Linked DNA regions of Homo sapiens: all the other regions are linked to region 4. The links are contacts of gene promoters, found by promoter capture Hi-C in blood cells and fetal thymus (Javierre and others, 2016). All regions are on one chromosome and are shown on one strand. The core of a region is centred on a gene start or on the middle of the fragment in contact, and the rest is flanking DNA. Distances in the headings are between cores, read along the strand shown. Region 1 overlaps TSTD2 (thiosulfate sulfurtransferase like domain containing 2). Region 2 has its middle 2.0 kb from the start of NIPSNAP3B. Region 3 overlaps ABCA1 (ATP binding cassette subfamily A member 1). Region 4 holds the start of MRPL50 (mitochondrial ribosomal protein L50). Region 5 overlaps LOC112268038 (a long non-coding RNA gene). Region 6 overlaps CT70 (cancer/testis associated transcript 70). Region 7 has its middle 29 kb from the start of CT70.

Region 1 (3,307 bases), core at 53-2,552, 3.8 Mb before region 4:
TATGAAGAATAATCAGCAGGGTAGGGAGGCAGTGATGGAGAAGCCCTTCGAACACAGAGAGTAGGAAAAGCCTTTCTGCAGCAATAGCATTTGAGCAGAAACCTGAATTAGGGAGCGAGCCATGCAGTCATTAGGGTAAATAATACCAGAAAAGCAACAGGTACAACCCAAATCAATCAAGATGTGTGCCAGCACCTTCAGTTATAAACACTTTCTTCTTTTTGCCCCTTAATTTCAGAGCTATGAAAATTTCCTTCCTTAGAAGAAATAGTTCCCAAGACAGCCCCACTGTAATATGCCAGAAGAAATGTCAAAATCGCTACTGTGGCCAAATCTTGTCAAAATGGACACACTACAACCATCATACCATGTTGGTTCTTTTGTAAAGCAAAGGTGACAGGTGACAAGCACTAAGAGGCACACTGAGAAAAAGTATGGGCTTTGGTTTGTGCTGCAGCAGTTTGCCAAGCATGTGAACATGGGCAAGCTACTTAAGGTTTCTGAGTTCTAAATCTCTCTTGTGGAAATTGTGCATTGTAGTATCTACATTACAGTACTGTACTGTAGACTGGAAAGAAATATTAATATATAGTGTCTGGCACAAACTAGGGTTCAATGAATGGTAATATTATTAATATTTTAATTGAATGCTGTATTTTAAATTTAACATTAAAATTTTATTTAAAAATTAGCTGTGACAGATTATATTTTCCAAAAATGGCTGCAGCAGTATTTCTGGTCCATTTCCCTAAGCCTAGGCAGGCTTGTTAACTACTCCCAAAAATAAAGCGTGATGGAAGCAATGCTGTATGACTGAGGTTGGGTTCTCAAAAGGATACGCTAGTGCAAGCTCTCATTCTGAGATGCTCACGCTGAGGAGACCAAACCACTGTATTGTGAGTAAGCCAATCCAACCCATGCAGAGACCACACACAGAGAACCAGGTGGAGAGGAACAGAGGCCTCCAGCTGACAGCCAGCATCAACCACTAGACCCTTCAGATTCCAGATTGGCCTCTGAGCTGAGAGCAGAGACAAGGTGTCCCTGTTGTGCCCTGTCCAAATTCCTGCCCCACAACATAACAACTGGTTATTTCATATTACTAGTGAACTGGCAAAGTTAGTTTCTTCAGGACAATATTGAAGGAGGCAGCCAGAGGTGGACACTGAAGGTTCTGAAAATAGTAACATGCAAAGTAGTCCCAAACTCCACAAGAGGGAGCAGAAAAAGCACCACTAAGAATGAGAGAAAGGAAGGTGGGAGACACTGGTGACAAACTTTGCCAATTCACAACTCTGCCTACAGGGTACCTCAACCAGGTGAAGGCAACAAGGAGCAGTTTATGTGTGGGGGAACACACACTGCTTGTTAACAATGCTGGATAGGACTGATGGAGACTAAACATACACAGACACACACAGGCAATACCAACTTTCTTATAAAGGACCTTTGTTCCTTGGATTCATAAATTAAGATGTCACTTGCACCACATAAAATGCATTTGAATCAGCTAAGTGGTGCTTTCATGGGGCTCAAAATGAGCTTTGTTATAAGGGTAAGGCAAGGTAATACAGATTTATTAAACCTAAATTCTCTTGTATTTGAAAAATAAGTGGAAGAGACTGGGTGAAGAAATACTACCTTCTTTAGCTTCTCTTTCCTTTCTCATGAAAATGTCTTTCATATAAAGTCCCACTGAAAAAAGTACATCCCTAACTCTACACAAACCTGTAAGCCTTCCAGGCAGAAGTAAAATAAGTAGAAGAATCTTATTCAACACACTTCCTCCATGCTCAAAGCTGTTTTATTGTAAAGGTAGAGAAAGTACATATATCATTTCCAAATTAAAATTCATTCAACAAATATTTATGGAGGGTCTTCTAGGTTCCAGGCATTGTTCTAGAAACAGATAACTTATTTACCTATAAGGGCAGTACATTTGGGAGGTAACATTGTCGAAAGGAATTACTATCCAATCCGGTCCCACCTCCAGCATCTTTTCCAATCTCCCTCTATATGACCTGATGTAGTCTGTCCCAGCATTTATGCTTTCCACTGCTTTGTTTCCCTTACTTTTTCACTTCTTTCCCTCCCCATATGCTTACTATGTATATGAAGACTGAACTCAAGTGTCACCTTTCACTTATGTCTTGTCTGCTACCCTGTGTCACTGCTTCCTTTGAAGGCCTGAAAAACTTAGTTTCCCTATACTCTAGGCTCATCTCTGACTATGCTCCCCATTCCCCATCAGATATCCTACTCTAGCCACACTGGACCATGCCCAGTTCCACAAATGAGCCATGTTCTTTCCTGACTCAAGGTCTCTGCACCTGAGTGTGGGGTGCCTTTCCCACCACCCCAAAATGATCTCCTCCGACTCTGCATCTTTTTTCAGTCTCAGCTTATTTTGATTTATGTACATACTCTGAATTATTATTATTTGTGGCACCTCTGCTATGTGCCGGGCCCATGGAATAGTCCTGGGAATGCAGCTATGAATGAAACAGTTGAAGTACCTGCTCTCTTGGAGCTTATATTCTGGTAAGGAGAGACATTAAGTAAGTAATAAACAAACAAACAAACAAACAAACAAATCATGAAAATACCAGCTAGGGATAACGGCCCCTGCTTCTCAGTTTCCTTTGCTGGATCTTCCTTATTACCCCAACCTCTAAATGTTGAACCACTCTATCTATACTTACCCTACAGGTGATCTCATCTACTTCCAAGGACTTAAAACTATATTTGCCTCAAAATAATTGAGAGAGAGGAGGTAATATCAATGAAACCAGATTACCCATGAATTAAGAATTACTGAAGTTGATGATGAGTACATGGGGTTTCATCATAAATTTTCCCTACTTCTGTAAATATTTGAAAATTACATGAGAAAAGAAAAAAGGGAAACATAAAGGAAATTTTCTGTTTAGAATACTATATAATAAATGACTCCATATTTATATCTTCAACCTGGGCCTTTCTCCCAAACTACAAATTCATATACCCCACTGTGTGTGAATTTTACACTGTGTGTGAAGCCAGCTAGCTTCAGCTTCAAATACAACTGTTCAAAACCAAACTTTCGTCTTCCCCAGTCTTCCTTATCTGAGTAAAAGACAATTTTATTCTTCCTGTTATTCAGACAAAAAAAACTTTGGGATGATTCCTGACTCCTTATTTTCTCACACTATCATTCACTTGTTCAGAAAATACTTTTTTTTGAGACGGTTTTCGTTCTGTCACCAGGCTGGAGTGCAGTGGGGTGATCTCGGCTCACTGCAACCTCCGCCTCCCAGGTTCAAGCGAT
Region 2 (2,993 bases), core at 337-2,836, 3.4 Mb after region 4:
CTCAATGTTTATTTGGAAAGTTTTCACTCAGGAAATTTAAGCATCTAGAGTTTACATGTACAACTGCTGTCCTCCTACCCAGTTGGGCCAGCACTGGATACACCTCTCCTGCTTTTGCATGAGCCTGACCTTTAAAAAAAAAAAAAAACATGCAAGAACATCATCAAGTAGATTGTTCCCTTTGCCCACTTCTTGTAATTCCCACCATCCTTCAGCTAATACTTATTTGTTATGAGAGGTGTAAAAATGCATCTTCACACTCATCAGATCAGATGGGCAATAATAAGAAATTGGTCAGGAAAACCTCATACACTGCTATTAAGAATATACATTTATAGAACAGTTTGGCACGATTTAATAAAGATGAATATATACATAACTTATGACCCAGCAATTCCATTCCTAATTATATACTCTAGAGTAGTGGTTTGTAACCTCTAGTACACAAATCCTGAAGGATAGAATTCAGAGTCTGATAACTTGGATAGGTAAAAGTTCCATCTTTATTGGCACCAACTTCTAAGCATTTCCTTTGTTTGTGAAGGTAGGCAACAAACCACAATATTATTAGCAGGACCTGCAACTTTTTAGTCAGTAAAAATCACAGATACTGTCAAATTCTATTTATAGTTGTTGCAAATACAGAAAATTTATTTTACCTTCATCACTACTTCAAAATTATTATACCTCTTACACCTACCATTAGATATTGTTATTTAATATCTTATAAAGAATAGGTCTATTTCTTTATCAAGAATTTGCTTTTAGCAGTCCTAAGCAAAAAGAACAAAGCTAGAGGCATCACACTACCAGCCTTCAAAATATACTATAAGCTATAGTAACCAAAACAACATGGTACTGGGATAGAAACAGAAACAGACCAATGGAACAGAATATATAACCCAGAAATTAATCCATACATCTACAGCCAACTGGTTTTTGACAAAGGTGCCAAGAACATACACTGGGGAAAAGACAGTCTCTTCAATAAATAGTGCCAGGAAAACTGGATATCAATATGCAGAAGAGTGAAACTAGACCCCCACCTCTCACTCTATACAAAAATTCAGTTCAATGGGTCAAAGAGCTAAGTGTAAGACCTGAAACTAAAAGTACTAGAAGAAAATATAAGGGAAATGCTTCCGGACATTGTCTGGGAAAAAGTTTTATGAATAAGATTTCAAAAGCACAGACAACAAAAGCAAAAATAGATTATGTCAAACTAAAAAGCTTCTGCACAGCAAATGAAAAAATCAACAGAGTGAAAAAACCACCTATAGAATGGGAAAAAATAATTGCAAACTATTCATCTGACAGGGATTCATATCCAGAATATACAAGAAACTCAAACATCTCACCAGCAATAAAAACCAAACAAATCAATTTAAGAATGGGCAAATGATCTGAACAGACATTTCTCCAAAGGAGACATACAAATAGCTCACAAATACATGAAAAATGTTCAACATCACTCATCATCAGGGAAGTGAGGTATTATCTCACCCCAGTTAGGCTATTATCAAAAAGTCAAAAAACAAAGCTGATGAGGATGCAGAGAAAAGGAAAATCGTATACACTGTTGGGAATGTAAACTCTTAGAACTACTATGGAGAACACTATGGAGTTTCCTCAAGAAACTACAAATAACCCACTACTGAGCATTATCCAAAGGAAAAGAAATCAGTATATCAGAAAGACATCTTCCCTCCCCCATGTTTATTGCAGCACTGTTCACAATAGCCAAGATACAGAATCAGCCTAGGTGTCCAGCAAGATTAATGGATAAAGAAAGTATGTTATATATACACAATGGAATACTATTCAGCAGTAAAAAGGAATGAAATCCTGTCCTTCACAGCAACATGGCTGGAACTGGTGGATATTATGTTAAGTGAAATATGCCAACAAGAGAAAGTTGCACACCACATGTTCTCATTAATGTATAAGCTTTAAAAAAAGTTGATTTCAGAAATAAAAAGTATAACAGGATTCTAGAGGATGGGAAAGATTAGGAGGAAGACAAGGATGGGAGAGATTTGTTAAACAAAATTATAGCTAGATAGGAGGAATAAGTTCTAGTGCTCTATACCACTTCAGGATAACTATAGTTAATAATATATAGTTTCAAATTGCTAGGAGGATATTGAATGTTCTCAACACAAATGATAAGCCCCCGGGGGAGTGGCTTCTGTGAGACCTAAATCCTCATCTGCCACAGAAGGAAGGCAACACATACTCTCCATAACTGAAAATGCAAGAAATAGCAGAAAATGACTATTATTTAAAAATACGGGCCAGGCGCAGTGGCTCGTGCCTGTAATCCCAGCACTTAGGGAGGCTGAGCCGAGAGGATCACCTGAGGTCAGGAGTTCAAGACCAGCCTGCCCAACATGGTGAAACGCCGTCTCTACTAAAAATAGAAAAATTAGCCAGGTGTCGTGGCGTGCGCCTGTAATTCCAGCTACTCAGGAGGCTGAGGCAGGAGAATCTCTTGAAACCGGGAGGCGGAGGTTGCAGTGAGCCAAGATCATGCCACTGCACCCCAGCCTGAGCGACAGAGCAAGACTCTGTCTCAAAAAAATAAAAAACATACGGAAACAGGTATTAGAAGAACAGCTTAAAATGTTGAAGGTGGTTAGTCTGGGGACCAGTACTCTGGGACTGGGAGGACTAGACCAGAGGTCGGCTGTTTTGCTCTTAAGGCTTACAGAACGATCTAGTTTCAAACTATCTATGTTTAACTTCGACTTTTTCCTATCAGGCTCGGTGCTGCTATTCCACTGAGCTCATGGAAAATTAAATCTTTATTAGGAGCCTTCCAAGATCACAGTGGGGTGGCAATGGGGACAGATAATGCAGAAAAGCGAAGGCTCACTGGTCTACAAATACACGTCTATCACAACCTGTAAAAGTTAACCCTGTCCCAGCCTGGCCAATATGGTGAAACTCCGTCTCTACTAAAAAATACAAAAATTAGCGGGGCGTGGTGGCGG
Region 3 (3,333 bases), core at 348-2,847, 3.4 Mb after region 4:
TTTAGGTTATACATGTGTCTACATGTCTGTGTGTACATACTAGGTTGAGATATAAAATGTATTTCCCACAACGGTCATGGTCAAAAAACTCTGAAAGCCACTGCCTTGTACTATCTCTCCACATAATAAGTCCAGAGAAGCCGGGCGCAGTGGCTCATGCCTGTAATCCCAGAACTTTGGGAGGCTGAGGCAGGTGGATCACCTGAGGTCAGGAGCTCGAGACCAGTCTGGCCAACATGGTGAAACCCCATCTCTACTGAAAATACAAAAAAATTAGGCAGGCATTGTGGCGGGCACCTGTAATCTCAGCTACTCAGGAGGCTGAGGCAGGAGAATCGCTTGAACCTGGGAGGCGGAGGTTGCAGTGAGCCAAGGTCGCGCCATTGCTCTCCAGCCTGGGCAGTAAGAGTGAAACTCCGTCTCAAAAAAAAAAAAGCCCAGAGAAGCCCCACATATTTAAAGTACTTAGAGTAACATTATCTAAGAAGCCTATAAAATGTAGCTGTATTCCCAAAGATCAGATTGCTTTGTGACCTGTGCAGTCTCAGAAAATGGCCTAACGGTGGCTCAGTCAATTTGTATGCTCTTTAGAGAGGGCAATTTACTTTGTAGGAATTGTTCCTGAGGAAATAATAAAAGATGTATACAGGGACATATTTACATAGTGAAAAATGGAAACTAATGTGTCCAACATTTATAAGGAATTTATTAAATAAATTATAGGTACATGTACATAGGGGGATTTTATGTAGCAATGTAAAATTCCACATCTTAGGAAATGTAACCCACTGGGAAATATTCATAATACACTCATTAACAATAAAAACTAATTTTAAATTCTACATACAGTATGATCTCAATTGTATGGCACATTTATATGTGTATATAAGACAGATGTGGGGTGATGGAAAAGTTCTAAAACTGGATTGTGGTGATGGTTGCAAAACTCTCAATTTACCAAAAATCACTAAATTATACTCTTAAAAAACAAGCAAATTATATTGTATGTAAATTATACCTGAATAAAGCTGTTAAAAGAAGAGAATGAGACTGAAAGGAAATGTAAATTGTGATTATCTCTAGATATTGAAATCATGGATGATTTTATGTGCTTCTTTACCCTTTACTATATTTCAACATTTTTATGAACTCTAAAAATACCACTGTAATCAAAAATAACAACCTATTTCTTTAAATAAATTAAAAACAAAGTCTTTGCAGCAAAATACAAGCCACTTCTTTTCTCACCTATTTTTGTTAAGGAAAGCATCTCCTCTGGTAACAGTGGTATCTCCTGTTAACATCTTGAAAGTTGATGATTTTCCAGCCCCATTAACTCCCAGGAGCCCAAAGCACTGAAAAGGAAAGATTAAGTTGTATAAGCAAACTCTAAAAACATGAATATAAATGCCCCTAACACGTAACTACCTCAAACCTTCAATTCTTAAATATCAGAGAAGAATCAAATATTTTCTTGGTTTTAACACATCGTATAGATATTTAAATATGTATTTCATAATGGGACCATTTTAAGTGTGGCTGTATTTATAAATATTATTTGAGTTGTCAAGTTGAGGCCAAAGTTAATGTGTGAAAAACAGTAATGAAAGCCAGCTAGCCAAATTGCACCACCTACTCTGGCAAAAGGGCATAAAAGAACACAAACGGAAACCAGAAAGGAGAAAATCTATTTTTAAAAAACTATTTGAATGTCATCACCATCCCAAATGGATCACAAAAGCATGTTTTAGATGTGCGTGCTTTTTCTGTTTTTGTTGTTGACATGAGTCTCACTCTGTCACCAGGCTGGAGTGCAGCAGCGCAATCTGGGCAACCTCCCCCTCCTAGGTTCAAGCAATTCTCCTGCCTCAGCCTCCCGAGTAGCTGGGACTACAGGAATGCACTACTATGCCCAGCTAATTTTTGTATTTATAGTAGAGATGGGGTTTCACCATGTTGGCCAGGATGGTCTCAATCTCCTGACCTCGTGATCCGCCCACCTCGGCCTCCCAAAGTGCTGGGATTACAGGAGTGAATCACTGCGCCCAGCCCCATGCTTTTTCTTAAATTGTATTGGATTCTCTGAAATCATTCTCTTGACATACAGGGTCCCTCTCTTCTCGATGACTAATTGCTCCATCCTGGCATAAATACAGAAGCCTTTAAAATCCACTTTTACCTCTTAACGAGCATCGTTGCTTGATTGGGTAGAGATAGTCTGAACTAATAGGGACAAACGCAATATAGACAAAGTGTCTTTACCTCACCAGGAGGAATGCCCACGCAAATCCTGTCAACAGCAGGCTTCCGCTTCCTTCTATATATCTGCAACAAACAAAATGTAAACATTCATAAGCCTCAGTGACTCACAGCTCTCCCAAGCAACTGTGGAAGGCAGGACTATAAACCACATACACTGCAACATAAGACTTGTCAATAACCCTAAGCCATAGGCATATTTGATGTGCCAAGAGCCTTGGTCTGCGTTTGTGGCGACTGGCTTCTGAATGATTCTGAAGCTCAAAATAAAAGTGAACTTACTTTTTAACCTGTCTTTTTAGAACCGTATCATTCATTATTATCTACATAATTTTTCATCTATTCAACATATATATGTATTGCAGGTATTTTAAAAATTAAATTCCACAGAGTAGAAATTTGTAATAAAAATATTGCAAATACTGTACAGATTCCAAAAAAGTAAAATTTGGAGATGCTGGCATCTAGAGGGCTGATATAGACCCTCTTGAACACAGGCAATATATCAGCTTTTTGGACTATGAAACTCAAACTCAAAATCAACCATTTATTCTCTCTACCTCAGTTTTGACTAGATATACAATATTAGTATGTTTTAATAACTAACACATAAATGTAAGCATATAAAACCAATGTATTCGAGAATGGGAATTCATATCACAAAAGAATTCTCAGTAAGAATTCTTTAAGAAGTCTCCATGGTGTTTTTAAAATAAAATTGACAGAACCTTGGTATAGATGTACATTTTGGGAACACATGCCCTTTTATTAAGCAAGTCAGCAAACTGCTGGGTTACAGCACATAAAGCTGAAAAAAACTGAAGATGAGCTATTGTAACCTGTACTCTCTCACCTTCGTCAACTCCTTGATTTCTAAGATGTCATTCTGGCCTCCACCATCAAGAATTCTCTGTCTTTCCCGCCTCACATCTTCATCTTCATCATTCAGAGGAGATAGCTTTGCATTTACAGGTCTTGGGGGAAAAAACAAGAAAAATGAACCTTTCAAACTATTTTTCAGGACAAAGATTCAGTCTCTAACGTAGTATTATAAAACCTACTTGCCACAGTCTC
Region 4 (3,016 bases), core at 351-2,850:
AGACGTTGGACAAAGGTAAAATTTAAATTATGTAGAATGAATAAGTTCCAGAGATCTAATGTACACCATGGTGACGATCATTAATAATACTGTACTGTATACTTGAAATCTTCTGAGAGTAAATCTTAAGTGTTTTCACCACACACACAAAAATTCTAACTGGCCAGGTGTGGTGGCTCACCCCTGGAATCCCAGCAATTTGGGAGGCCAAGGTGGGAAAATTACTTGAGTCCAGGAGTTCAAGACCAGCCTGTGCAACATAGTGAGAACTCCTTTCTCTAAAACAAAACAAAACAGAAAGTATGTGAAGAGATGAATATGATAATTATCTTGACTAATAATCAACATCAAGTTGTATATCTTAAATATATAAAATTTTTAAAATAGTAAAGAAAATATAATCATCATTCTCAGTAATCTATTTCCTCTAGTTTTCTTCATAATTTACCACTTTCTGAAATTACATTACACATTTGTTCATTTCTTCCTCCATTAGAACATATGCCCTACGAGAACAAAAATTTGGTCTGTTTTAGTAACCACTGTATTCTTACAACACCTAAGATATAGCCTGGCATATAGTAAACAGCCTAAAAAATATTTGTTGAGTGAATGAATAAAACAAACTTGGAAGAGATTTGAGAGATAATAACAAATATTGACCAAAGAAGAGGGAAAGCTAATATCTGAACTGATGAAAAAGATCTTTCCTAATTGTAGTGGTTTTTGTTTTAAACCTAAGAGAGCATACATTGCTCCCTAGGGTTCCTACCATACGTTTTGATTTCCTAAACACTATCTAAGTCAAATTAGATTTACCTTCAAACAATTACACATGGTGCAGCCGTGCAGCAGAAAAAGCAGTAGATGGGGAGTTAGGAGACATATGTTCTAGATCCAGCTTTGCAATTAACTTGCTTTGTGACTTTGGGAAAATCACTTCCCTCCTGTGGGCCTGTTTCCTCATATGTTGGAGTACCTCGAGGATGAGAATGGATTTTGTTTTTCCTGCTGTATCCTAGGCGCTTAGAGTAATGCTGGCCCTAAGAAATCTGTTGAATGACTGAATGAATGAACAAACAAAAGGAGGAGGCAGTACTTCATTACTGAACCTTGCTTGTGAAGAAACACAGCCGGCAAATGAGTTTAGTTTACCAAGCGCTTTCATGTGTTTGCAGACAACACACTCGGTGTCTCGCACACGAGGTTAATCCTGCTTGCTTAATAAATAAATGAATGAGTGAAGTGAAAAGGAAAGGGGGTGGTATTTCCGTTATAAAATGAGAAAACTAAGGCCGAGAGTGGAAGAGACTGGGTCCCACCACTCAATGAGTGCTTCTCAACTCGGGACCCTAACCGGACCTCCTTGTCCTTGCTCTGATCAGGCGCGGGACCACGATGGCGTAACACTCTATTTTGAATTCGTCCCTAATCCTCCTTAACTTTCCTTGAACATGACCCACCGTCCACCATAAAGCTTTACCTGAATCGAGACCAAAATTCTCTACATGGTGTCCCTGAGACTGTCCACATGAAGACTCTTCTGGTAATGCCCGACACAGATCGCGCCGCCATCTTCGATGAGATCCACGGGCCTGAGCGCAGCCTTCAGCCAGCAGTGACGCGCCCAGACCAGCCAATCGGATACAATCCCAGTGGCAAGAGCTTTCTTTTTCCTGTAGGCTCCCTCGCCCTTTGCACGCTGGGAAATGTAGTCCAGTAGCTGTTGCTGGCGGCGTCTGGACCGCGGCGCTCTTTCCGAGCATGACGGGAGTTGTAGTTGAGGGGGCCTCGGGAAGAATCTGGGTGACGCCTTCTGGTCCGGGGGCGGGCGGTCATAGCGTTACTTGGCTGCAAGGAGGAGGAACTGGCAGCGGGGAGGAGGCTCTAGCGAGGCCTGAAAGGCTGCGTAACCAGGCAGGAGTAGGGGTTGGGGTTCGGGGTTGGGGGACAGCCAGGGATCGCGTCTGATATGCTGTTGGGGTCGTGACCGTCTGGGGGCCGAGGCAGGCACTGGCCAGACCCAGCCAGGGATCCTCGTATTCGTCGAGCCTAATTTCCAGCAGCCGGGTAGGCCTCACCAGAGGCTCCTTTCCGTGAGGCCGCCCCCAATTCCTGCCCCTATTCTCTGCCTGGGAGATGGCTTCCCCGAGCCCCCCGCCGGAGTCGAAGGTAAGTAAGCACCCCCCCGGGGATCCCGGTTGTCTCGCCGCTACCCCAGCTAGGCCGCACCACTGCTTTCTCCCCCAGGCCCCCCACCAACCTCCTGACCGCCTCTTTAGGGCCAGCGCCTTGCAAGGAACTCCCCACTAGTGCATTGGGGTGCGGTTCGCGAACAAACTGCCCACTGGCTCCCTTTTTTTTTTTCTTTTTCTAGAGAGACTTGATAAATCGGCCTGAGAAAATAAGTAATGCTCCAGACTAGCTCTCTCATTTGTGAGTTCTCCAGGTGAAGCACCATTTTTGACCTTCCCTTGTGTCTTCTGTTCCTGGCACAGTGCCTGGACCCCAAGGTACACGCTTAGAGAACCTCAAGGAATTGAATTGAATAGAGTCACAAGCCAGTGCAAATGGAAAATTGAAGTAGGCAATGAGGTGAGGGAAGCTTGGAGAGGCCTTGGGGCAGTTTACTAAAATTAAACTCTCAGGGCATAATAAATCAGAAAAGCCTTATCCGTAGGTCCTTTCTAGTCTGAGATGTCTGTCAGTTACAGTTCGTTCCCAGAATTGGGCAACATATGGAACTTTCAGTTATCATGTTCCTCCTAGCCTACTTGGCCACAATAAGTGATTGCCTCTGTCACTTTTAGTGGTAGAATTGTCCTTGAGACAACAGGAACTGACTACAGAAATCATACTATTTCAGGGGTTGCTGACATTTGAGGATGTGGCTGTGTTTTTTACCCAGGAGGAGTGGGATTATCTGGACCCAGCTCAGAGAAGCCTGTATAAAGATGTCATGATGGAGAATTATGGAAACCTGGTCTCACTGGGTAAGAATCTGCTGTTTCTCTAA
Region 5 (3,095 bases), core at 573-3,072, 3.8 Mb after region 4:
TACTAAAAATACAAAAAGTGTGGTGGCAGGTGCCTGTAATTCCAGCTACTCAGGAGGCTGAGGCAGGAGAATTGCTTGAACCCAGGAGGTGGAGGTTGCAGTGAGCCCAGATTGTGCCTTTGCACTCCAGCTTGGGTGACAGTGAGACTGTCTCAAAAAAATAATAATAATAAAATAAATAAAAATAAAAATAATTAAAAAAAAAAGATGCTCACCCTTAGAACTCAGCTACCAAGCTGTGAGGAAACCCAGGTCATGTGGCAAGGCTCCAAGTAGGTATTCTGGCTGATGGCAAACAGTTAGTATCAACCTCCGGGCATGAGTAAACTTCAAGATAACTCCTGCCTCATAGCTAACTGCAATCACCTGACAACCCTCAAGCGAGAACCGCTTAGCTGAGCCTACTCTGTTCCCCCAATGGTGAGAGTTGATGACTGCTGTTGTTTTAAGTCATCAAGTTTTAGTTTGGTTTGGGATACAACAACAGATAACTGGAACATGCAATAGATCTTATTGATTTCTAAGCCTGCACCTTTGCTTAAGTCATTTTATACCTGAGAGTTCTCTTTTTCTCCCATCATCTTCACTTATCCAAAGCTACGTGTTAAGGACCAGCTGAAACACAATTTATGAAGCCTTTCCTAATCATTGCATTTGTGACCTGTTCTTTCCCTGTACTCTGGACACTGTATATGTTCTTCATGATTAACAGGTCATTCAGGAGAACCCCCTCCCTGTCCTTAATAAAATAAAATGTTTTATAATATTAAAATATTTAAATATAGTTTTTTTAAGTACATGCTTTTGTCAAAACTACAAAAAATTCAAAAGTTATAATTCAGAACATGTCTCTCTTCTGTCTGGTTCTATTTCACCACGATTTATCCCCACCTCTTCTCCAAAGGTTACTGCTGTTAACAGATTGGTACATATTCCTCACAACCTCATCTACACAAACATGCACACACGTGCTTGTGCACACACAGTTTACATCACACACACACAACGATTGACATGAACAGGATTCCATCATAATCCTGTTTTGTAAACTACTGTTTTTAGTTGATGGTATATTTTAGTTATGCATAGCCCATGTCATTAAATACAGATTGCTCTTACTTTTTAACAGTTGCATAGTGCTTCCTATTATTTAAGCAATTACTTAACCAATCTTCTGTTTATGGAAATTTAGTTTTCTCTCAATTTGTCCTTATTAAAAACAAAACTGTATTGCTGTTGGATATTCTCAGGGTAAGAACTGCTGGGTTAAAAGAATACACCTTTTACATTTTGATACAAATTCTTAAACTTCTCCCCAGAAAGAGGGTAACTATTTATATCACCATTAATCATGTATAGAGTACTGTGACCTTCTCTCACACTGGTTATTATTAAGCTTTTAAATCTTTGCCAATTTGCTAGGTGAGGAATGATGTCTCCTAATTTTTAAGCTTACAGTTTTATTATTAGTAAGGCTGAGCAACATTTCACGTTTTATTAGTTCTTGTATTTCTTTCACTGTGGATTTTGTCTGTTATGTCCTTTACTCATATTTCTGTGGAGTGGGTTTTTTTTTCTTTTTTCTTTTGGTTTTAAATAGGAGCTTCTTGTGTATTATGTAAACCTTTACATAGACTTTGCAAGTATTATTTATCTCTTTGTCATTTGTATTCATTTTGTAGTATCTTTTGCATGTAGGAGTTTTAAAATGTTTATGTAGTTAATCCTATCTGTCTTTTACTATGGTATTAGGTTAGTGTTATCCAAAGAAAAGCCTTTTATAATTCCAATATTAGAAAAATTATTATTATTATTATTTTTTGACAAAATTTGGCTCTATTGCCTAGGCTGCAGTGCAGTGGTGCCATCTTGGCTTACTGCAACCTCTGCCTCCCAGGCTCAAGCCATCTTCCCATCTTCAGCCTCCTGAGTAGCTGGGACTACAGATGCACACCACGACGCTCGGCTAATTTTTGTATATTTTGTAGAGACAGGATTTCGCCATGTTGCCTAGGCTGGTCTTGAACTCATGAGCTCAAGAGATCTGCCTGCCTCAGCCTCCCAAAGTGCTGGGATTACAGGTATGAGCCACTGTGCCCAGCCAGAAAAATAAACCTATTTTATACCAGAAGTTTTACAGTAAAACAACAGCAACAACAAGTATTTTAAAAAGTAGTAATCTAATATTTAAGATAAGCTTTCCTTTGAGACATTCTAGGCATTTATAAATCTAAATTCCTAGGGACTCATTGACAAAATTCATTCATTCATTGAATAAATATTTATGAAACATTCCTGGATACCAAACTGTTTTCTAGGCTTTTGGTACACAGTGGGAACTTGTCTAGTGGAAGTAAGAAAGGGTTAATAGGGAAAAAAATGTAACAGCATTTTTTAAATAAAAAAAAAAAAATCAATCTTTGTGGACCTCCTTTACGCTTATATAGTATGTGGACTTTTCCCTTTCATTACATTTAAACTATACTCTGTTCTTGGTTTAAATATCTTTCCACCCCTTAAGAATGATCTAAAGGCAAGGAGTGTACTTCGTCTTTGAATCCCAGGCACCCAGCTAGGTATTTGGTTCATTATAATGGCTCAAGACATGCACTGTTAAATAAATAGATTTCCCTACTTTACAAATTTCTTCTTTCCTTCTCAAATTAATACTCATCACCCTGCTTCCATTTCCTCTCCTTCCTCATCCCAGCATCCCAAAATGAAAAACCAACACTAATTTTATGTTGGAAACAGCTCAAATCCCTGAGAACTGATGCATGAGCACAGGCTACTTAATCAAAATCGAACATGCTTAGCTCATAGAAAGCAGTCAATATAAAAATTATTAAATGAATTGAATGACTACAATGTTTAAAAAAGTCATTCAGAAAAGTAGTAGGAGGAAGATACACCCCTCTAAACACAAGTTTATAACAAGCATTTTAAAGAGAATTCATACATTGTTTGATCTTGCAACAAAAATCCAAGTGAAACCACAAATAAAAGCCAGAGTTATTAATAAATATTGGAGGAACATCAACTTACAAGTGTGACCAGAAACAAAGTTGCAGAGCTAAGGACTTAAGAATTGCCAG
Region 6 (3,275 bases), core at 654-3,153, 3.6 Mb after region 4:
TAAATACTGACATAGCTCACTATAACATCTTGTAGAGATCTGACTAGTTTACAAAGCATGATTAAATGCATTATCTAATTTAAGCCTCACAATTACTTTGTAAAGTAAACAGAAAGTGGCTGTTAATTTTGCAAGTAAAGAATTCCAGGACTTTTGATTCTCAGTCCAGTGTTGTTTTGTTTTTCTCTCATTTTTCTTCCCTTATTTCTTGACACATTGATGATAATGAAGAATAGATGTGAGTACAGGATTCCTCAAACCTGAATTTAACTGTGTTTGTGAGGGTCCAGCTCAGGGACAGACATTCAGTAAACCCTCCAATGATAACTGATATTGTTGTTTTTCTTATAATTACAACTATTGGCTTTGTTCAATAAAGCAATATTTATAAAAGTAATTTATTAGAATGAGAAGTACAGAAACCAAAAATGGAGGGGAAATTTGAATGAAGATACGATGTCAGAAATGAGGGAAGGAACTCTAAATAATACTTCGGAGCCTGAACTTTGGAGTTAGACAAGTTGAGTTCACATGCCAGCCCTGCTGCTTATCAGAATGGGGAGTTTGGGCAAAGTGGCTAACAGCCCATCGCCTCCACTTCCTCATCTTCAAGGCTGCCACTTCACGAGATATTATTATGAAGATTGAAAGAGATAAAGTACATAAGATGCTAGCCCAATGCTCAGAATAAATATTTAATAATTACAGCTATTATTAAATCCTGGTTATGGATGGAAGAGTGGACTTGGTAAAAGTCCAAGCCGCAGCAGGTTTGAGAATAAAATAACCTACATTGACTGCTTTGAGTGTTTATCAGTTTGTAGACTTCATTTATATCAACTTTAAAAAGGATAATCTCTCTTCCTCAGGCCCACTGTTTTTACACTCTGATTATAATTAACTTGCCTCTTAATGACACTGCATTCATGACTGATGTTTCCCAGTTGTAGGTTTTTTAATTCCTATATTTCTCATAAACGTATTTGGTAACTGAATCTAGCAAATGAGTACAAAACAAAGAGTCATAGCCCTTTACCTTTAATGTCTATGAAGTGAAAGAGATCAAAGGGGAAACTCTGAACTTACTGTCTCATTTATGAGAAGCTTTGGAACAATTTATGAAGGCGACAGATGTTCTGCTTCCTAGAACCTTTTTGTTCCATCCCCAAATCTATATTTTCCTTTAGTATATTGATTTCTTGTTACAGAGCAGGAATAGCTATTAAATATCTTTATTTGGAAGCTTGGGGGTGCCAGAATGTGAGAGGAAAAATGCATCAGTAGCTAAGGGACAGTTGATGGGGTGGGTGCAGGAGGGCCCAAGAGAAGGTAATCTGTGTCTGGGAAATTATTTACAATTTGAAAGGCACAGAGACTTGCCAGAGGAAGAAAAGAGGGAGCAAATGAGAGAAGCATCCAATCACGCTGAGCCCTTTGATGGATGAGGAAGATACTTTAAAAGATGAGAAAGCACTTTCCCTATCAGCCAGATGGCTCATCTAATCTCTCTTTGTAGCTAGCAGCAGAGGGGAAAGATCCAGTGTAAAAAATTATGGAATATCTGTTGGGAATAAGCTGATGCAAACCAATCACAAATCGAAGTGTTTTTCTTTTCAGTTTTGATGAGGGGACACTGATTTCTATTTGGGGGTGGGACTGGATTTTGACTACCAAAATGTAGCTGGAAATTGAGTTGATTGATTATGAACAATGTTCCAAACACTGTTTCTCTCAGCAATGCAAATAACATTTCTGTGGTGTATTTATAGTTTCAAAGCATCCTCACCTGCATTCTCTGATTTTATCTTATAAATAGCCCTGTGAGGTAGGTGTCATTATCCTCATTTTATACTTGAGATAAGTGAGGCTTACAGAAATTAATTAACAACAGTCTCCAAACTTGGGTCTGTTTTACTATACTAGCTTTCTTTGGGTCTTCCAACAAATGGCAATCTATGGCCACAGTTCCCACAAACAGCTTTCTTTTTTTTTTTTTTTTTTTTTTGGTGGGGGGAGGGGCGGGGGGCATCTCTGCCAAGCATCTCCTAGATTTCCATAATGTTTTTCCCTCCAAGCCAATTCCATGATCCTTGGCATCTCTCAAAGGCCTGAAGAGGCCACCTGAGGTTGCCTGGAGGGTGAGTGCTAGGAGTGGAAAAGGGTGGCACAGTCCTATGAGCCACTAAGCTACTGCTTCCCTTGGCTTTGGGGGACGCGGTGTCCTGGTGACATCACTGTCCCCTTGCAGTGCCCTCTCTTGTATCCCCTTAGAGCTCCTGGGCTGCCTTCCAGCCATCCTAAGTATCCCATCCCTTCAAAGTCTGTTTACTTCCATCCCCCTCAGGACATCTCAGCCAGGAAAGCAATCACTTTTTGCACATTACTATCTCCTTAAGATAATTTCTAGCTTAGAGAACAAACAGCCAGGGAAGACAATGTCTTCCTTGGCCACACTGGACATGCTCCATGGGCAGAAAGCCTCCAGGCTTGAAGCTACTTCTCCACTTCCTCCCCTCCTGATAACTTCCTGGCCTGTTGGAACCTCTTCCACAGTCGGTGGTCAATAAGCTTAAAATTGTGCCTACACCCAGAGGACAGGGAGTCTTGCATCAGCTTGGCAGTGCAGAGTAACGCCAGCTATAGTTGCAGAGACCACAATAGTTATTAGTTAGAATATACATGTGCCTGTATTTGAACTTTGGTATCACCACTTGCTAACTGTGGTACGTTCTCTGTGACTCAGTGTATGCATTTTTCAAGTGGGGTAATAATATTACATATAGAGTTATAATGAGGATTAAAAGTGTTGTATATGTAAAGTGCTTAGAATTGTTCTGGCATAAAAAAAACTCCATAAGGATTCAATCAATTAAATTGTTTAAATTCCACTTTTTGAAGTGCCTACTCTATGCTAGGTTCTTTACATCTGAAATTCAGATGCCAGCTGGAGTTATCCTGACCCCTCAGATGGAAATAAGTGGTTAAGACCTCCTTTTCTATGGATTATGGTAAACCAAATAATCTTCCCAAGCCTTCTTTGAATTCCAAAGGGTTCCTTATATTTCTTGATTAGCTCAGGCTCCCAACACCAGCTTCTTCAGAATTATTCTCGTAAGGGATTGTTTTGCTGTAGTCCACATTGTATCTCACAGATGTTTAACTCAAATTAATACTCACAGGAAACTTATAGAGGCGTTCACGTATGTAGTGACATTTATTAAAGTTTGGAAAAAAGGAGGTTTTACATTACAAAAAAACCGTCAATTTTATTTTAT
Region 7 (3,217 bases), core at 680-3,179, 3.6 Mb after region 4:
AGAAATGACCAGGCTATGAAGCATCTAATTTCCCAGCTCTCTGGATAGGAGAATGAGCCCAAAGAAATAATTTTTGCCCACCCCAAGGGTTCCCACTATCCATATGGATAGTCAGCATTTGGTGATTAACGATATTTCACATCCCACCAACAAAAAGTAGAGAAAAAAATCAATCTCTCACATGGTCCTCTGGGAAGGTGGTGAGGCGTTGGTGCCTCTTACTGGCAGACTCCGCCCACCTCCATACTCACAGCTCCCTATATAGCCCTCATGCATATGGCTGCATGAGTCATCCTGACCCTTAGTAACCTTTGTTGCCTGATTTCCTGTTCTTTCAAATGAGAAAGCTCTACTACATCATTTCTCGGAGAGACCTAAGTCCTCACCTGCCTGGGAGTCTGAAACCTCTGCCCTGGAAAGCCATGCTAGCCAAAAATCAGCAGCCAGGGCTATACATTGATAAACTAACTAAAGTAACAAGGTTTAAGCGAGAAATTCACTCTTAAAACATCGCTCTTTGTTGGTAGAAATGGAGCCCCTCACATAAAAGTATGTTGATCATAGTTCTGTTAACTAAGAACTTTTTTTTTTTCTAAACTGCTGCTGTTTATTCCAGTGGTATGATAATAGAACTTGATCATGTTTATACAGGTCAATGTTTTTTGGCGTTACTTCATATGGGAGTAAGCCCCATAAAGTGAATTCAAGTGTGTGTGGGTGGATGTTATTAGCTGCTGACACTGCCTTGAAGATTTTCTGTTTGCTGCAGCTCTACACCATGGTGTAAAGATGGACCACTTTTCCCTTCTCCGGGTGTGAGGCAATTGAAATAGGCTGTATCTGGCTTTTTGCCTCACAGAGAATCTTGTGTGTAAACCAGCTGAGAAGGTGAAAAGTCAATTGCCCATGGCCAAAAGCTAAGCAGGCTTTCCTTAAAGACAGAGAAACTCTTTCCTACCACCTTCAGCCAAGGCATGAACGGGGTTATAGTCCTGGCCTCAAACAGTTCCAACAATTTAAAGGTTATAAAACGATTAGCAAAAACAGTATGGCCAAAGAGGAAGACTGAAAAGCTTATACAACTCTAGGCTCTATCAGGTAAAGATGGTGTCTTTTTTAAAACCTACTCATAGGCTGGGCGTGATGGCTCACGCCTGTAATCCTAGCACTTTGGGAGGCCAAGGTGGGCAGATTGCCTGAGCTCAGGAGTTCAAGACCAACCTGGGCAACACGTTGAAACCCCGTCCCTACTAAAAATACAAAAAATTAGCCGGGCGTGGAGGCATGCACCTGTAGTCCCAGCTACTCAGGAGGCTCAGGCAGGAGAATTGCTTGAACCTGGAAGGTGGAGGCTGCAGTGAGCCGAGATCACACCACTGCACTCCAGCCTGGGCGGCAGAGAGAGACTCGGTCTCAAATAAAATAAAATAAAATAAAGTAAAATAAAATAAAATAAAATAAAACCTACTCATTAGGTGCTCAGTAGAGTAGTGTGCAAATGTGGGTTCCTAATTAATAAGTCTTGTTTGCTGATAAATGGAAAGGCATTCTCATACACATTATTGAGAACCCAGGAGGACTTGTGATTCAAGGTATAAAGTCGAAGGTGGAAACCAGAAAACAAGTCCTATGTGTTCTTGTTACGAAAAAAAAAAAAGACACATTTTTCAATAGCCAATTATTATAGTGACAATGTGTTACTAAAATAATAAGAAAACAAGGGTTAAAACTTTTCAGCAGAACTGGATTTTCAGTTAAATAGCTTTAATATAGCAAAATACAATATGTTCTCTGCAGGTGGATCTCTTGCTGTTTCAATCCTTTAAAAAAGGTACAAAAAACATCTTTTCTAAAACTGAAAACTGATTGCAAGGGAGAGAAGAGACTCTCGTGTAAGAATTTGGCTCACCTGCCAACTCACTGGTATATATAATTCCAATAGATTAATCTGGCGTTTTGATTTGAAGACGCGAATGGAGAGATGTGTTTAGTGCTTACAATTGCACCTTCTCTCTGCATTCACCATAGACCTGTAGTAGAAAGCCATGCCCTCAGCCTGCACCTGCTCCACTCCTAGAGTAAGAATTTTTTGGCCAAATTTAGGACAGTTAGTGTCAGCTAACCATGTTGTCTCCACTAGTCCCACTGTGTTGCAGGAATGTGGAGACACAAAGCTGCGCAGATGGCTGTCAGCAAGATCCTACCTGCTTTAGTTCTCAGTGCCAAGGAGATCCTATAGTGAGTGATGGCTCATAGGATTGAATTATAAGATAAACTCAGAAAGTTATTTGAAAATGTTAAGTGTGGCTGGGTGCGGTGACTCACGCCTATAATCTCGGCACTTTGGGAGGCTGAGGCAGGCAGATCACCTGAGGTTGAGAGTTCGAGACCAGCCTGAGCAACATGGAGAAACCCCGTCTCTACTAAAAATTCAAAATTAGCCAGGCGTGGTGGCACAATGCCTGTAATCCCAGTTACTCGGGAGGCTGAGTAGGAGCAGGAGAATTGCTTGAACCCAGGAGGTGGAGGTTGCAGTGAGCTGAGATAGTGCCATTGTACTCCAGCCTGGGCAACAAGAGAGAAACTCCATCTTAAAAAAAAAAGAAAGAAAGAAAATGTAAGTGTAACTTCAGTTCCCCAAACTGGTCCGTCTTTTCCTTCCTTTTTTTTCTTTTTGATGGACAATTTCAAGAAATAAAGAAATAAAATGTTACAGACATGTTTGAAGTTCCTTCCAATTTTATTTCCTTCCTTTCCCCTGAATTTGGTGTTTATTAATCCCATACAAGCTTTTTATATTTTCTACATAAAAGTGTCCATAATCAATAACTAGTATTCTTTTGTATGTTCCAAACTTTATATGTGGTATCATACTGACACTGTAGACATCATTCTGTAACTTGCTCTTGCACAAATTATGTTTCTGAGATTTATACATGTTGATAATGCAGTTACTCATTTTCTTTATAATATTCATTTTCTTTGTAATTTCATTTGCAAGTAGCCGGGCGCAGTGGCTCACACCTGTAATCCCTACACTTTGGGAGGCCGAGGCGGGTGGATCACTTGAGGTCAGGAGTTCAAGACCAGCCTGGCCAACATGGTGAAACCCCATCTCTACTAAAAATACAAAAAATTAGCCGGGCATGATGGCAGACGCCTGTAATCCCAGCTACTCGGGAGGCTGAGGCAGGAAAATTGCTTGAACCTGGGAGGT

What was found. Contacts are between HindIII fragments. The CHiCAGO score rates a contact against its expected background, and 5 or more counts as called.
Region 1: a contact is called between a fragment that was not itself captured here and the fragment with the promoter of MRPL50 in region 4, in 1 of 17 cell types (naive B cells). The highest score is 6.7, in naive B cells.
Region 2: a fragment that was not itself captured here is called in contact with the fragment with the promoter of MRPL50 in region 4 in 12 of 17 cell types (total B cells, activated CD4 T cells, fetal thymus and 9 more); the score reaches 25.0 in total B cells.
Region 3: a fragment that was not itself captured here is called in contact with the fragment with the promoter of MRPL50 in region 4 in 1 of 17 cell types (naive B cells); the score reaches 5.4 in naive B cells.
Region 5: a fragment that was not itself captured here is called in contact with the fragment with the promoter of MRPL50 in region 4 in 5 of 17 cell types (total CD4 T cells, total CD8 T cells, fetal thymus and 2 more); the score reaches 10.6 in total CD4 T cells.
Region 6: a fragment that was not itself captured here is called in contact with the fragment with the promoter of MRPL50 in region 4 in 1 of 17 cell types (total CD4 T cells); the score reaches 6.2 in total CD4 T cells.
Region 7: a contact is called between a fragment that was not itself captured here and the fragment with the promoter of MRPL50 in region 4, in 2 of 17 cell types (total CD8 T cells and activated CD4 T cells). The highest score is 6.0, in total CD8 T cells.

What each region holds. Positions count from the first base shown.
Region 1 is chr9:97,627,916-97,631,222 of GRCh38, forward strand. All of the region lies in intron 1 of TSTD2 (thiosulfate sulfurtransferase like domain containing 2), which reads right to left. Among named protein-coding and RNA genes, the nearest start is that of TSTD2, 3.8 kb to the right of the region's middle. The HindIII fragment of the contact is 6,117 bases long and covers 1-3,307 here.
Region 2 is chr9:104,760,659-104,763,651 of GRCh38, forward strand. No RefSeq gene overlaps it. Among named protein-coding and RNA genes, the nearest start is that of NIPSNAP3B, 2.0 kb to the right of the region's middle. The HindIII fragment of the contact is 717 bases long and covers 1,229-1,945 here.
Region 3 is chr9:104,789,674-104,793,006 of GRCh38, forward strand. It overlaps ABCA1 (ATP binding cassette subfamily A member 1), which reads right to left. Exons shown (of 50, transcript NM_005502.4): 42 at 3,113-3,233; 43 at 2,263-2,325; 44 at 1,249-1,355. It also overlaps a transcript of NIPSNAP3B not described here. Among named protein-coding and RNA genes, the nearest start is that of NIPSNAP3B, 27 kb to the left of the region's middle. The HindIII fragment of the contact is 6,998 bases long and covers 1-3,333 here.
Region 4 is chr9:101,397,018-101,400,033 of GRCh38, forward strand. It overlaps MRPL50 (mitochondrial ribosomal protein L50), which reads right to left and starts at 1,601. Exons shown (of 2, transcript NM_019051.3): 1 at 1,484-1,601. The coding sequence starts at 1,575. ZNF189 (zinc finger protein 189) reads left to right here and starts at 1,834. Exons shown (of 3, transcript NM_003452.4): 1 at 1,834-2,172; 2 at 2,867-2,993. The coding sequence starts at 2,140. RefSeq lists enhancers at 714-1,243, 1,244-1,772, 1,305-1,834. The HindIII fragment of the contact is 1,128 bases long and covers 1,476-2,603 here.
Region 5 is chr9:105,238,191-105,241,285 of GRCh38, forward strand. All of the region lies in intron 1 of LOC112268038 (a long non-coding RNA gene), which reads right to left. Among named protein-coding and RNA genes, the nearest start is that of SLC44A1, 4.9 kb to the right of the region's middle. The HindIII fragment of the contact is 746 bases long and covers 1,450-2,195 here.
Region 6 is chr9:104,983,739-104,987,013 of GRCh38, forward strand. All of the region lies in intron 3 of CT70 (cancer/testis associated transcript 70), which reads right to left. Among named protein-coding and RNA genes, the nearest start is that of CT70, 6.4 kb to the right of the region's middle. The HindIII fragment of the contact is 1,325 bases long and covers 1,242-2,566 here.
Region 7 is chr9:104,961,140-104,964,356 of GRCh38, forward strand. No RefSeq gene overlaps it. Among named protein-coding and RNA genes, the nearest start is that of CT70, 29 kb to the right of the region's middle. The HindIII fragment of the contact is 1,716 bases long and covers 1,072-2,787 here.